Regions from separate parts of the Homo sapiens genome. Here regions 1, 2 and 3 are each linked to region 4. Evidence: promoter capture Hi-C in 16 types of primary human blood cells and fetal thymus (Javierre and others, 2016). All regions are on one chromosome and are shown on one strand. Each heading gives the region's core, a stretch centred on a gene start or on the middle of the fragment in contact. The rest is flanking DNA. Distances are from core to core; before and after follow the strand shown. Region 1 has its middle 5.6 kb from the start of SNORA41. Region 2 holds the start of ZDBF2 (zinc finger DBF-type containing 2). Region 3 overlaps NDUFS1 (NADH:ubiquinone oxidoreductase core subunit S1). Region 4 holds the start of CREB1 (cAMP responsive element binding protein 1).

Region 1 (2,700 bases), core at 120-2,619, 1.4 Mb before region 4:
AGTTTTTCTTTTCTTTTTTTTTTTTTTTTTGAGACAGGGTCTCAATCTATCATCCAGGCTGGAGTGCAGTGGCATGATCACGGCTCACTGCAGCCTTGAACTCCTAGGCTTAAGCAATTCTACCTCAGCCTACTGAGTAGCTGGGACTACAGGCATGTGCCACCATACCCAGCTAATTTAAAAAAATTTTTTTAGAGATGGGGTCTTGCTATGATGCCCAGGCTTTGAACTCCTGGACTCAAGTGATCCTTCCACCTTGGCCTTCCAAGGTACTGGGATTACAGGTATGAGCCAACGTGTCCAGCCTGAAACAATATTTTTCATGTTCGGCATCCCTAGCAGAGGGCTGGGCAGTGTGGGAACTCAAAACTGATTCCTTCCGTATCACTTTGTTAGATGAAACAAAAAAACACAGAAGAAGAGAAAATTAGTATAGGGAGGCAATTCAAACATAAAATTGTTAAAAATAAAAGTCATTGGTTTGGGGATTAAGCAAATAATCTAAAAGTTCAGAAGGTCAGAGACGGCTAGAATTGATGACAAGTTTTTTGGAAGAATCAGATATAAAGATTTGGGAAGCAATTAGACAAATTCGTGAGATTTTGCAGTGTGTGTTTGGAATCTTAGATAGGATGGGGCCAGCCTGTAGACATATTTGAATTACAGGCTGGCACATTATATGAGGTTTCCAAACCAGAGAATATTAATGTTAAGACAGCTTTGATCTGGAGGTGATACGAATGAAAGCAAGGAGATCAGATGACTTATAATCCTCACAGATGGAAATGTCTAAATTATGGCATATGTATTCAATGAAATGTTTTATAAACTTTATTTATTTTTTTGAGATGGAGTCTCGCTCTATTGCCCAGGCTGGCGTGCCGTGGTGCGATGTTGGCTCATTGCAACCTCCACCTCCCAGGTTCAAGCGATTCCCCTGCCTCAGCCTCCCAAGTAGCTGGGATTACTTGTGTGCGCCACAATGCCCGGCTAATTTTTGTATTTTTAGTAGAGATGAAGTTTTGCCATGTTGGCCAGGCTGGTCTTGAACTCCTAACCTCAAGTGATCTGCCCATCTCGGCCTCCCAAAGTGCTGGGATTACAGGCGTGAGCCACCACGCCCAGCCTAAACTTTGTTTTTAAAAGTAAGTCTATAGCAACATTGAGAAATGCTTGATATTTCATGGACTATTACTATGAAAAGATATGCTTATTTGTCCATGATTATTCAGTAAATATACTAAGTCACTAGTAAGTGACAGAGGAGGAACACAAGCCAGGGTCTTCATAGGCCAGTTGATGTGTTGGTAACAGAATACGGAAGGTTCTTCATCCCTGCTTTTAGACAGTTTAATCCTATTTCATCAGTGTAATCCTTGCTTCATATTCTCATGAATATGATGAGGTGAGGTGAGGTGATAAGAAAATATGGTGAGGGATAAGAAAATATCACATAAGGGTAAATTTTACCTTGTGTAAATTGAGACTTAAACACTAAAACACTGTTCTAGGCAGAGGTTCTCAAACCTCAATTCTTGATGTCTGTCCACTCACAGGCTCAACACTACATGGAAGCTGCCAAGGCTTGAGGCTTGAACCCTCTGAAGCCATGGCCCAAGCTCTACGCTGGACCCTTTCAACCATGGCTGGAGTGGCTGGGATGCAGTGCACCAAGTCCCTAGGTTGCACACAGCACGGGGACCCTGGGCCCGGCCCATGAAACCACTTTTTCCTCCCAGGCCTTTGGGCCTGTGATAGGAGGGGCTGCTGCAAAGGTTTTTTTGACATGTCCTAGAGACATTTTTCACCATTGTCTTGGTGATTAATATTTGGTTCCTCATTACTTATGCAAATTTCTGCAGCCAGCTTGGATTTCTCCTCAGAAAATGAGATTTTCTTTTCTATTGCATTGTCAGGCTGCAAATTTTCCAAACTGTTATGCGCTGCGTCCTTATAAAACTGAATGCCATTAACAGCACCCAAGTCACCCCTTGCATGCTTTGCTGCTTAGAAATTTCTTCTGCCATGATATGGTTTGGCTGTGTCCCCACCCAAATCTCATCTTGAATTTCCACGTGTTGTGGGGAGGGACCTGGCAGGAGGCAATAGAATCATGGGGGCAGGTCTTTCTTGTGCTGTTCTCGTGATACCCAGTCATGGATATGTTTTACCCATGATTTAGGGTATCTGGTGGGATAAATTTCTAAGCAGCAAAGCATTCAAGAGGTGACTTGGGTGCTGTTAAAGGCGTTCAGTTTTATAAGGGAAGCAGAGCATAAAAGTTTGGAAAATTTGCAGCCTGACAATGCAATAAAAAAGAAAATCTCATTTTCTGAGGAGAAAGTCAAGTCAGCTGTAGAAATTTGCATAAGTAACAGGGAGCCAAATGTTAATCACCAAGACAAGGGGAAAATGTCTCCAGGGTACATCAGAGGTCTTCATGGCAGCCCTTCCCATCACAAGCCTGGAGGCCTAGAAAGAAAAAGTGGTTTCGTGTGCTGGGCCCAGGGTCCCTGTGCTGTGTGCAGCCTAGGAACTTGGTGCCCTGTGTCCCAGCTGCTCCAGCCATGGCTGAAGGGCCAATGTAGAGCTCGGGCCATGGCTTCAGACAGAGGGTGCAAGCCCCAAGCCTTGGCAGCTTCCATGTGGTGTTGAGCCTTCAAGTGCATAGATATCAAGAATTGAAGTTTGGGAACCTCT
Region 2 (2,700 bases), core at 67-2,566, 1.3 Mb before region 4:
CACTTATCTCAGTTGAAATGAGGACAACCTGCACAGCAACATCCACGTTGTAATACGTGGAGGTAATGACAACCAGGTCTGTACTGCCACCCGGTCAACGAGAGTTTATAAGATGCATCTTGATTTCACAGATGTTAAAATGTGGGGAAAAACATGGCTTAGCATCTGTGAAATACATAATGTCATGGTGCTTCGATCAATGTATAGTGGATTTTCTATAATTCCAAAGTTGGGATGTGGAAAAAACTTGCCTTAAAAGAAATCCGTACTTTTTGGTATGTTAAATCTAAGGGAGGTTATAAATCGAACAGTTGCAGGAGCCCAACTTTAAAGTGAGAGAAAGATGTAGTGGGGGAAGAAGGAGCTGAGAAATACAGAAAGAATAAAAACAATGGACGCAAAAGCAATAGGCAAGTTTTTTTGTTGTTGTTCTTTAAAGGGACAAAATCACAAGCTTACTAAAAAGGGTAACGACAATTACAGCTACAGCCAAAGAGCAAAGTAGCTCATTTTAAGATTATTTTTACATTAGACATAAGCTTTGCAACAGGGCCTCTCTCCATTTTAGTAAAATTGGTTTAGGTGTTTCAGAACCTTCTTATCGCAGATTATAATTTCATATTCAGTAGTGTGATTCATTTAGGTTTGTGATCTCCGTTACACTTAAACTGTTTTTGCTCACAACTATATTCGTAATGGGGTAGCGCAGTGAATATAATTGCATGACCTAATGTTGTTTGTTAATATTTGTAACCCTTTAATGTGCAGGATAGATCTTTGAATACCTAACTTCCTTAAGCCTCAGTTTTCTCAATTTGTCAAAGGGGGACAATAATAGGATTCATTCAGAGTTACTCTGAAATGAAATGCAATAATGTATAGAAACCTTAAACGGTGCCTAGCACAGAGCAAGCGCTCATTGAACAGCAGCTTTTGTGAGATGCACCTCACTATGAAATAGGCATGGAAACGGAAACGACTAGCTCTCTTAGCCCCGTTTTCTTTTCTACATTCATACGTTGCTTTGAATTGGCAAGCAGTTTTTATTTGGACCCTCAAACGCTAAAACCTTGGTCTCTACTTCGCGTCCCAACTGTGCTTATGAGTCTAGTCATTTTTGTTGGAACGCGATAGATTTCCCAAGCTCCGGAGTGGGGCCCTGACCAGGGAGGAAGTGTCCGCTTTAAGAGCTTCTGGAGGGGAGGAAGGGGCTCCTCCGCCCGGGTGGGAGAGTGAGTGAGTGGGTGGGCGGGCAGGGGGCGGTCCCGCCGCTCCTGCGTCAGAAGGGGTCTGGTTTTCGCACCTTCCCTGACGTCAAACCTCCATCAGGGTTGCAACGCCACGTTGCCTTGGATGCCTGCGTGAGTGGAGTCGCGACTCGGGGCCCGCGTCCTGAGAGACGCGCTCCCGCGCCGCTTCTCGCCTCCGGACCGCAGGGGCCGAAGTCGCCTATTTCTGGCTCCGCGGGCAGCGGGGCCGTGGCGCTCGGACGGTCTGGGATTCGGGCGCCGCCGCGGAACCGGAATAAGAAGGGAGAGCGCCCGGCTCGGTCCTCGGTCTCCACCGCGGCCCGGAAGGAATCCGGGCAGCCTCCGCGGAGGTGAGTGCCGCGGCGGGGGCGGGGCGCGGCCGGGGCGACGCCCGCGGGCGGGGCCTGCTCGCCGGGCGCCCGGGGCGCCTTCTTCCCGAGGGACGCCAGGACCGCTCGCTGGGCTCCCGCGGCCGCCTCGCAGGTCCTCGGCTTCCCCCCACCCCGCGTCCCTTTCTGCCCCTGCTGCGTGAGAGGTGTCGGCGGCTCCGGGCCGGGATCGAGGTGGCGGGGCGAGGGAAGGAGGTGGGGCGCAGGCTGCATTGCGCTTCTGTCCGGGGCCCTGGGTCAGAGGGGCCGGCGGACGAGGCCTCGGGTCCGGGCTTGGGGAGGGGGCGGTCTGCGGGGTCGGATTGAGGGCCGGGAACCCGCGGAGTCTTGCCCCTGGGCACCTGTGGGGCCGAGATCCCGAGCCACCTGTCCACACACCCCCTTCCCCCAGTGCCCTGCGTTGGGTCCAGCTGGCCCCAGACCTAGGCCTTTCCCAGCCTCGGGCGATTATAGTTTATTTGAAAACGTTTGATTTTTGTGTTAATGATTCTTTTACTACCGCCGTGCAACAGTTGTGTAAATGTGGTCGTGTTACGCCATCGTTTTTACTTGCTCCTAAGAAGGGCCTTACCAGCTCCTGCGATTATCTCACGCGATGATTCTTGGTAGCTCGTGAAAAAAATGCATAACAAGATACTGGTTCTCAAGGGACCAAAACCCCACCCCCACCTAAAGGAAATAGCTTGTTTTTGTTTTTCTTTTTTACAGCAATATGCTACGTGTGGGGAGGGGGAGGGACGATGGAGGCAGCCTGTAGCGATCTCATCCTCGAGAGAATCTGCTAACAATTTGGGGGGTATCTTTCCTTCCTTTTTAATTAATACACAAACATATATACGTGTGTTACATAAGGGGTGTTTATTTGCTTTTTTCACTTAATACGTGGAAGACCTTTTCTCTATCGTTTGAACCTAAAGCCTAGAAGGCAAGAAAGCAACTCGTTAGAGAGTTGATAAAGTATCACTGCAGTGGCCAGTGATTTGGATAGAAATAAGCTGAATTCAGGGTAAGAACTGGTTTCTATAAAATATGGTTTACTCTGCATAATAATTGGAGGCAGT
Region 3 (2,700 bases), core at 139-2,638, 1.4 Mb before region 4:
TCTATGTGTTTCCAGTTTTGAAATGAAGAGAATCAATTGTACAAAAGAATTAAATTTATAGATAGAAGTAAAGAGGGCTAGGTTCTCCACTACGATATTGATTCTAAATAAAGTTTGCTGCAAGATTTAAAGTTTTCTACCTTCTACAGCATGGTGTAGAATTTTAGGTATCAAGTACCTTAGGGGCTTTCTCAATTTCAACAAGGCACATCCTGCAGTTTCCAGCAACAGACAACCTTTCATGATAACAGAATCGAGGGATCTGCATGCCAACCTTCTCACAAGCCTAGAAGTAAAAAAAAAAAAAAAAAAAAAAAAAGCATTAGAATAACCTGACTTCACTGCTGTTATTGCTGAAACACACACATACAGCATCTTATTACTTCTATCTATCTATCTATCTATCTATCTATCTTAATTCATTCTTATTTCAGTCCCTTTCTTTGCCTTTGATTCTAACCCGTCTCCTCTGAAGCTGCCTCAGAGGATCTCAGGATCCTTGGCGTGACTTCACCTTATGTGGAAGAAACTGGATAAAGTATCCTTCCACTGTGCTGAAGACTTGACTTCCCACATCCATTTTGAACCATTGTCCACAATGTCCCCAGTGGTTTCATACCTGGACTTCTTCTTTGCCTCGCTCCCCTCCTTTGGATTAGAGATTTCACTACACATTATCTAGCTGGCTATCTGTCTTTGGCTCCTATATGCTACCCAGGACTCACCTCCCACTGTGGCTGAAGGTTTTCCCAGTTTCTGTTTGCCCAGTAAGGGGGATTATCCCTGCTCTGCCAATTATCACCTACCCTGCTCTGCAATTTCTTCCTCCTTTTAGTCTATAAACATGTTCAAATTTCCTCTAGAGTTAGTTCCTCATCCTCAGCCTTCATTCTAAAGCAATCTCATCAATTTCCAGTGTTTAAACTATTTAGTTAGCAAAAATGTGTTGAGTCTTTCCTTTGTGCAGGATGCAGGTATAGTAGTGAAAAAGACAGATAGTGTCCCAGCCTTCATCCTAGCTGACATTCCTTATGCTGATTATGTCCAAACCTTAATCTGCAGCCATGTTAGACCTCCACTTCTCCAAGCTTCAGATTTACAGGTATTTGCATGTGTATGTTCCACAGACAGCTTAAATTCAAATGATTTCTCTCCCCTCTATACACTCCAAAATAACCTAACAAATGCAGAAAACCACAAGAATTCCTCCGGTCTCTTTGAGTTCTAAAGAACTATTTGTCTGTGGCTCTACTGAAACTTCTTTTGTGTTTTTTTTTTCTCACTGTTAAAGCAATATTGGGAAGTTCTGTACGACGGGGGAAAAAATCCCTCGGGTCTTCATCATTCCTGAAGGCCTGTCTACATTTCATTCTCCCTTGAATCTACTCTCTTGTTTTCATTCCCATTGACACTATCTATTTTAGGGCTTTTGTAGTATCCTGTCCCAATAATACAAAATGCTTTTTCCTTGTCTCTTATTCCAGTCTTGCTATTCTCCAAATGATCATCCTCTACAGTCGCTGTCACCCTGTTTAAATAGGCAACAAAACTCCTGATGGATCAAAATATAAGCTCTTCTGCATAGCAGATACTGTATTTCATGACTGGACCTTCCCTTCCTCAATAACTTGATTTCCTGTGATCTCATCTTCTACTTATACCTTATGTTTCATCAATATTAAACTATTTGAAGCTTTCAAAATATGACAAGCTATCTGCCTTAACTTTTTCCATAGGAAATGCAAGCATGTCGTTCTTGTTCACAATATGAACACACCTGTTCATCCTTTAACACCTCCTCAGGGATGACCTGAGGCACCCAATACCTCTTTCTACTACCTCCTATCCCTGCCACAACTTTTCACTGTACCTTGAACATACATTTATATCATATTTTGTGCTTTCATGTCTGTGACTGGCAGATAGTCTAGAAATGACTGCTAAAATGAACAAAGAACATTTAGATCTGTGACAACTTACAAATGGAGTGAAGCATGACTTCTCTATGACCAATTTATTATTTCTGGAGGAATATGAAGAAATATTTAGAGCATGAATGTAAGCACATGCTACCCTCCATTTACCTGCTTTGTAGGATATATTCCTATGAATATTACTAACCACAGAAAGGTTATATGAAAATGAAAAGCATTAAGCAGGCCCACAACAAATGGAGGTTATTTTTTCACAAACTTACCTATAGTAACTAATTTAAGTTACTTCAAATTTCTTTTCTTTTTTTTTGAGACAGAGTCTTGCTCTGTTGCCCAGGCTGGAGTGCAGTGGCACAATCTCGGCTCACTGCAACCTCCGCCTCCTGGGTTCAAGCAATTCTCCTGCCTCAGCCTCTCGAGTAGCTGGGATTACAGGTGCGCGCCACGATGCGCAGCTAATTTTTTGTATTTTTAGTAGAGAAGGGGTTTCACAGTGCTGGCCAGGCTGGTCTAGAACTCCTGAATGATCCGCCCGCCTCGGCCTCCCAAAGTGCTGGGATTACAGGCATGAGCCACTGCGCTCGGACTTCAAATTTCTTAATGGGTATTCATTTGGAATGAAAAGTGAAACAAAAGAACTACCATAATTCACTAAAAATGCCACAAACAAATATATGATAGCTCACTTTGAAGTGCCAAGATTTAAAATGAAATAATTTTAATATAACTTTGCTGTGTATAGTTATTTTAAAGAATTATTTACTAA
Region 4 (2,700 bases), core at 64-2,563:
GGCCGGGCGCGGTGGCTCATACGTGTAACCCCACCACTTTAGGAGGCCGAGGCGGGTGGATTACCTGAGGTCAGGAGTTCCATACCAGCCTGGCCAACATGGTGAAACCCCGTCTCTACTAACAACACAAAAATTAGCCAGGTGTGGTGGCAGGTGCCTGTAATCCCAGCTACTAGGGAGGCTGAGGCAGGAGAATCGCTCGAAACCGGGAGGCGGAGGTTGCAGTGAGCCGAGATCGTGCCACTGCACTCCAGCCTGGGCGACAAGGGCTAGACTCCGTCTCATTAAAAAAAAAAAAAAAAAAAAAAAGACTTGAAACCCCAAGGAGAGGGCTGCAGAGTTCACTATCAAGGAGAATGGGGACCTAGTGGTGCCGTCCTGAGAGACCTCTGAAAGAACAATTCAGTAGTTTCCAGCCACGGAAGTCCCCCTGCTGGGTTTAGGGTGCAGTGGGTGCGAATCCCTGCTGTAGAAAACAGGCTGAGGAAAGAAAGCGACACAGGATGTTGTCTGGAGAAAGGCGGGGAGGTAGGATGGGGCATATTTCCAGGGGTCCGGGCAGGTTGTGTGGCTTGGAGGCCTCCGAGGGCCGTCGACGTCAGCCATGGTCCGGGCAGAGCCCCGCAAGGTGCCACAGTATCGGGGCCAGCGCCCCCCGGAAAAGCATGCTCCGCTGGCGGCCGCCAGGTTTCTCCGCGGAGTCTCGGAAAGGAAAACCCGTCCCCACGGGGGTCCCACGACGCCCCCGGGTCCCAGGCCCCGGGACGTTGGCAGAGGCGCAGCAGACCTTCTTCCCCAGCCCGCACGGCTCCAGCGGTCCGGCCGCGTCCCAGCCCGGGCTGCCCGTCCCCCGTCTCCCGGCGGCGTCGGAAAGTTCCCGGGGCTGGCGGCGGTCAAGAGCAGAGCCAGGGCAGCCGCAGCCGCCTTCTAGCCCGCCGCTCACCGCCGCAGGGGCAGGCCTGAGCGGGGGTTTCCACCAAGTCGCCGACACCCCTCGGGAATTCCCCCACTGGGCCACACACAAACCCCGCTTCCTCCTTCAAATTTCCGCTGCCGGCTTTACCGATGCGAAAGCCGCGGTGGAGTTTAGACCACTCCTCCCGGCGCCGGGCTCAGCCCGCCTTCGCCTTCCCTCTCCCCGCGGAACCCCTTCTCGTCGCCCGAAGAAACCCGAAGGTCTTCGGCAAGTTCCGTCCCCAGCGCGGGGGCGGGGCCGCTCGAGCTGCTCCGGGCCTAGCTCGGCTGTTTCCGTGCGCGGCCGCTGCGCACTCGGCACTGGGCGGCGCTGGCTGGCTCCCTGGCTGCGGCTCCTCAGTCGGCGGCGGCTGCTGCTGCCTGTGGCCCGGGCGGCTGGGAGAAGCGGAGTGTTGGTGAGTGACGCGGCGGAGGTGTAGTTTGACGCGGTGTGTTACGTGGGGGAGAGAATAAAACTCCAGCGAGATCCGGGCCGTGAACGAAAGCAGTGACGGAGGAGCTTGTACCACCGGTAAGAGGAGCAGGAGGAGGAGGCAGGAGCCAGAGAGAGCCGGGGGGACGGAGGGGGGACGGGGAGGCGCCGGACACCCGCGCTTGGGGCCTTCCCCTCGCAGGAGGGGCCGCGGTAAAGATGGAGCCTCCGCCCGAGCCCCACAACATCGCCGCCGCTCGCAGCGAACAAAGAATAATGGCGGCGGACTGGAGCCAGCGGCGGCCGGGGCGGCAGCGACTCTGCCTGCAGCCAGCGGCGGCGCTCATGGCGGGGGGCGGCGGGCGGCGGGCGGCGGGCGGGGTGGGAGCCGGCGGCCGGGGGTGTGTGCGGGCGGCCGGCCGCGGCGAGCTGGCGCCCGCGTTCCCGCCGCCGCCGCCGGGCCGGGCGCGGAGCCGGGAACCCGGAGCCGCCCCGGGGGAGGCCGCCCGCTCGGCCCGGCGCTGCCCCCCGCGCCGCTCGCTCGTCCGGCCCCCGCCGCCCGCCTCGCCCCCGGCCCGACCCGGCCGGGCCTCCGGGGCAGCCGCCGCCTAGGTGCCGGTGGGGGATGGAGGAGGAAGAAGGCGACAGTTGAGGGCAGAGGAGGTGAAGGTGCCTGCTGCCTTCCCGGTGGCTTCGGTGCCTGCCATGCCCGCTTCGCAAGGGGAAGAGCTGCAACGTCTGACCTACTCTTCTCTCCACTCTTTGTGCAATAAAGTTCGAAACCCAAGGTTTCCTCTCGTGCTGTATTTTATTCGTGCCCTTTCCCCCCCGCTCCTACACCGTTGAGGAAATGCTGCTTTCTGCCCTGTGTTGCTTAGTTGAGAGATGAGAGCTTGTGCTTTTGGGGGGAATTTTTGACTCCCTCACCCCTTTGCTTTTTTTTTTTTTTTAAAGTCAGTCATGGAAATGCATGCTTTTTGGGAGAAAGGGTGCTAAGAAAAACATTTATAATAACTTTTTAAACTGTTGGGATCTTATAAAAGGGAAGCTGGTGTTTGAAAACAGTTTCGGTTTTAACCCTTTTTAATAAGGTAATCATCACTTGAGATCTATCATTCTGAAACACTTCGTTGGAACGAGTATCAGCCGATGTACTCTTGTTTTACATCATTTCGCGGGGTGCAACCTTGCCAACCGCGTTTGGGTCATCTGGATCTCCCCTCACCCTCCGTCCCACTCCCCCTACCATATTTCCCACGAATTTCTGTGTGAACTTTAATGAGAGATTGATTTAATACTACTACTAAAAATAG

What was found. The method cuts DNA at HindIII sites, captures the fragments that hold promoters and counts their contacts. A CHiCAGO score of 5 or more calls a contact.
Region 1: a contact is called between a fragment that was not itself captured here and the fragment with the promoter of CREB1 in region 4, in 1 of 17 cell types (neutrophils). The highest score is 5.3, in neutrophils.
Region 2: the fragment with the promoter of ZDBF2 here is called in contact with the fragment with the promoter of CREB1 in region 4 in 1 of 17 cell types (fetal thymus); the score reaches 6.2 in fetal thymus.
Region 3: a fragment that was not itself captured here is called in contact with the fragment with the promoter of CREB1 in region 4 in 1 of 17 cell types (neutrophils); the score reaches 5.8 in neutrophils.

What each region holds. Positions count from the first base shown.
Region 1 is chr2:206,166,439-206,169,138 of GRCh38, forward strand. No RefSeq gene overlaps it. Among named protein-coding and RNA genes, the nearest start is that of SNORA41, 5.6 kb to the left of the region's middle. The HindIII fragment of the contact is 5,085 bases long and covers 1-2,700 here.
Region 2 is chr2:206,273,347-206,276,046 of GRCh38, forward strand. ZDBF2 (zinc finger DBF-type containing 2) reads left to right here and starts at 1,317. Exons shown (of 5, transcript NM_020923.3): 1 at 1,317-1,600. RefSeq lists silencers at 1,212-1,271, 1,552-2,011 and an enhancer at 1,675-2,174. The HindIII fragment of the contact is 6,855 bases long and covers 538-2,700 here.
Region 3 is chr2:206,149,640-206,152,339 of GRCh38, forward strand. NDUFS1 (NADH:ubiquinone oxidoreductase core subunit S1) reads right to left here. Exons shown (of 19, transcript NM_005006.7): 4 at 179-286. Among named protein-coding and RNA genes, the nearest start is that of NDUFS1, 8.5 kb to the right of the region's middle. The HindIII fragment of the contact is 605 bases long and covers 1,087-1,691 here.
Region 4 is chr2:207,528,649-207,531,348 of GRCh38, forward strand. It overlaps CREB1 (cAMP responsive element binding protein 1), which reads left to right and starts at 1,314. Exons shown (of 8, transcript NM_004379.5): 1 at 1,314-1,486. LOC124907970 (a long non-coding RNA gene) reads right to left here and starts at 949. Exons shown (of 3, transcript XR_007088060.1): 1 at 788-949. RefSeq lists silencers at 683-862, 1,533-1,662, 1,693-1,742, 2,453-2,622 and enhancers at 883-1,082, 1,343-1,442. The HindIII fragment of the contact is 5,804 bases long and covers 1-2,700 here.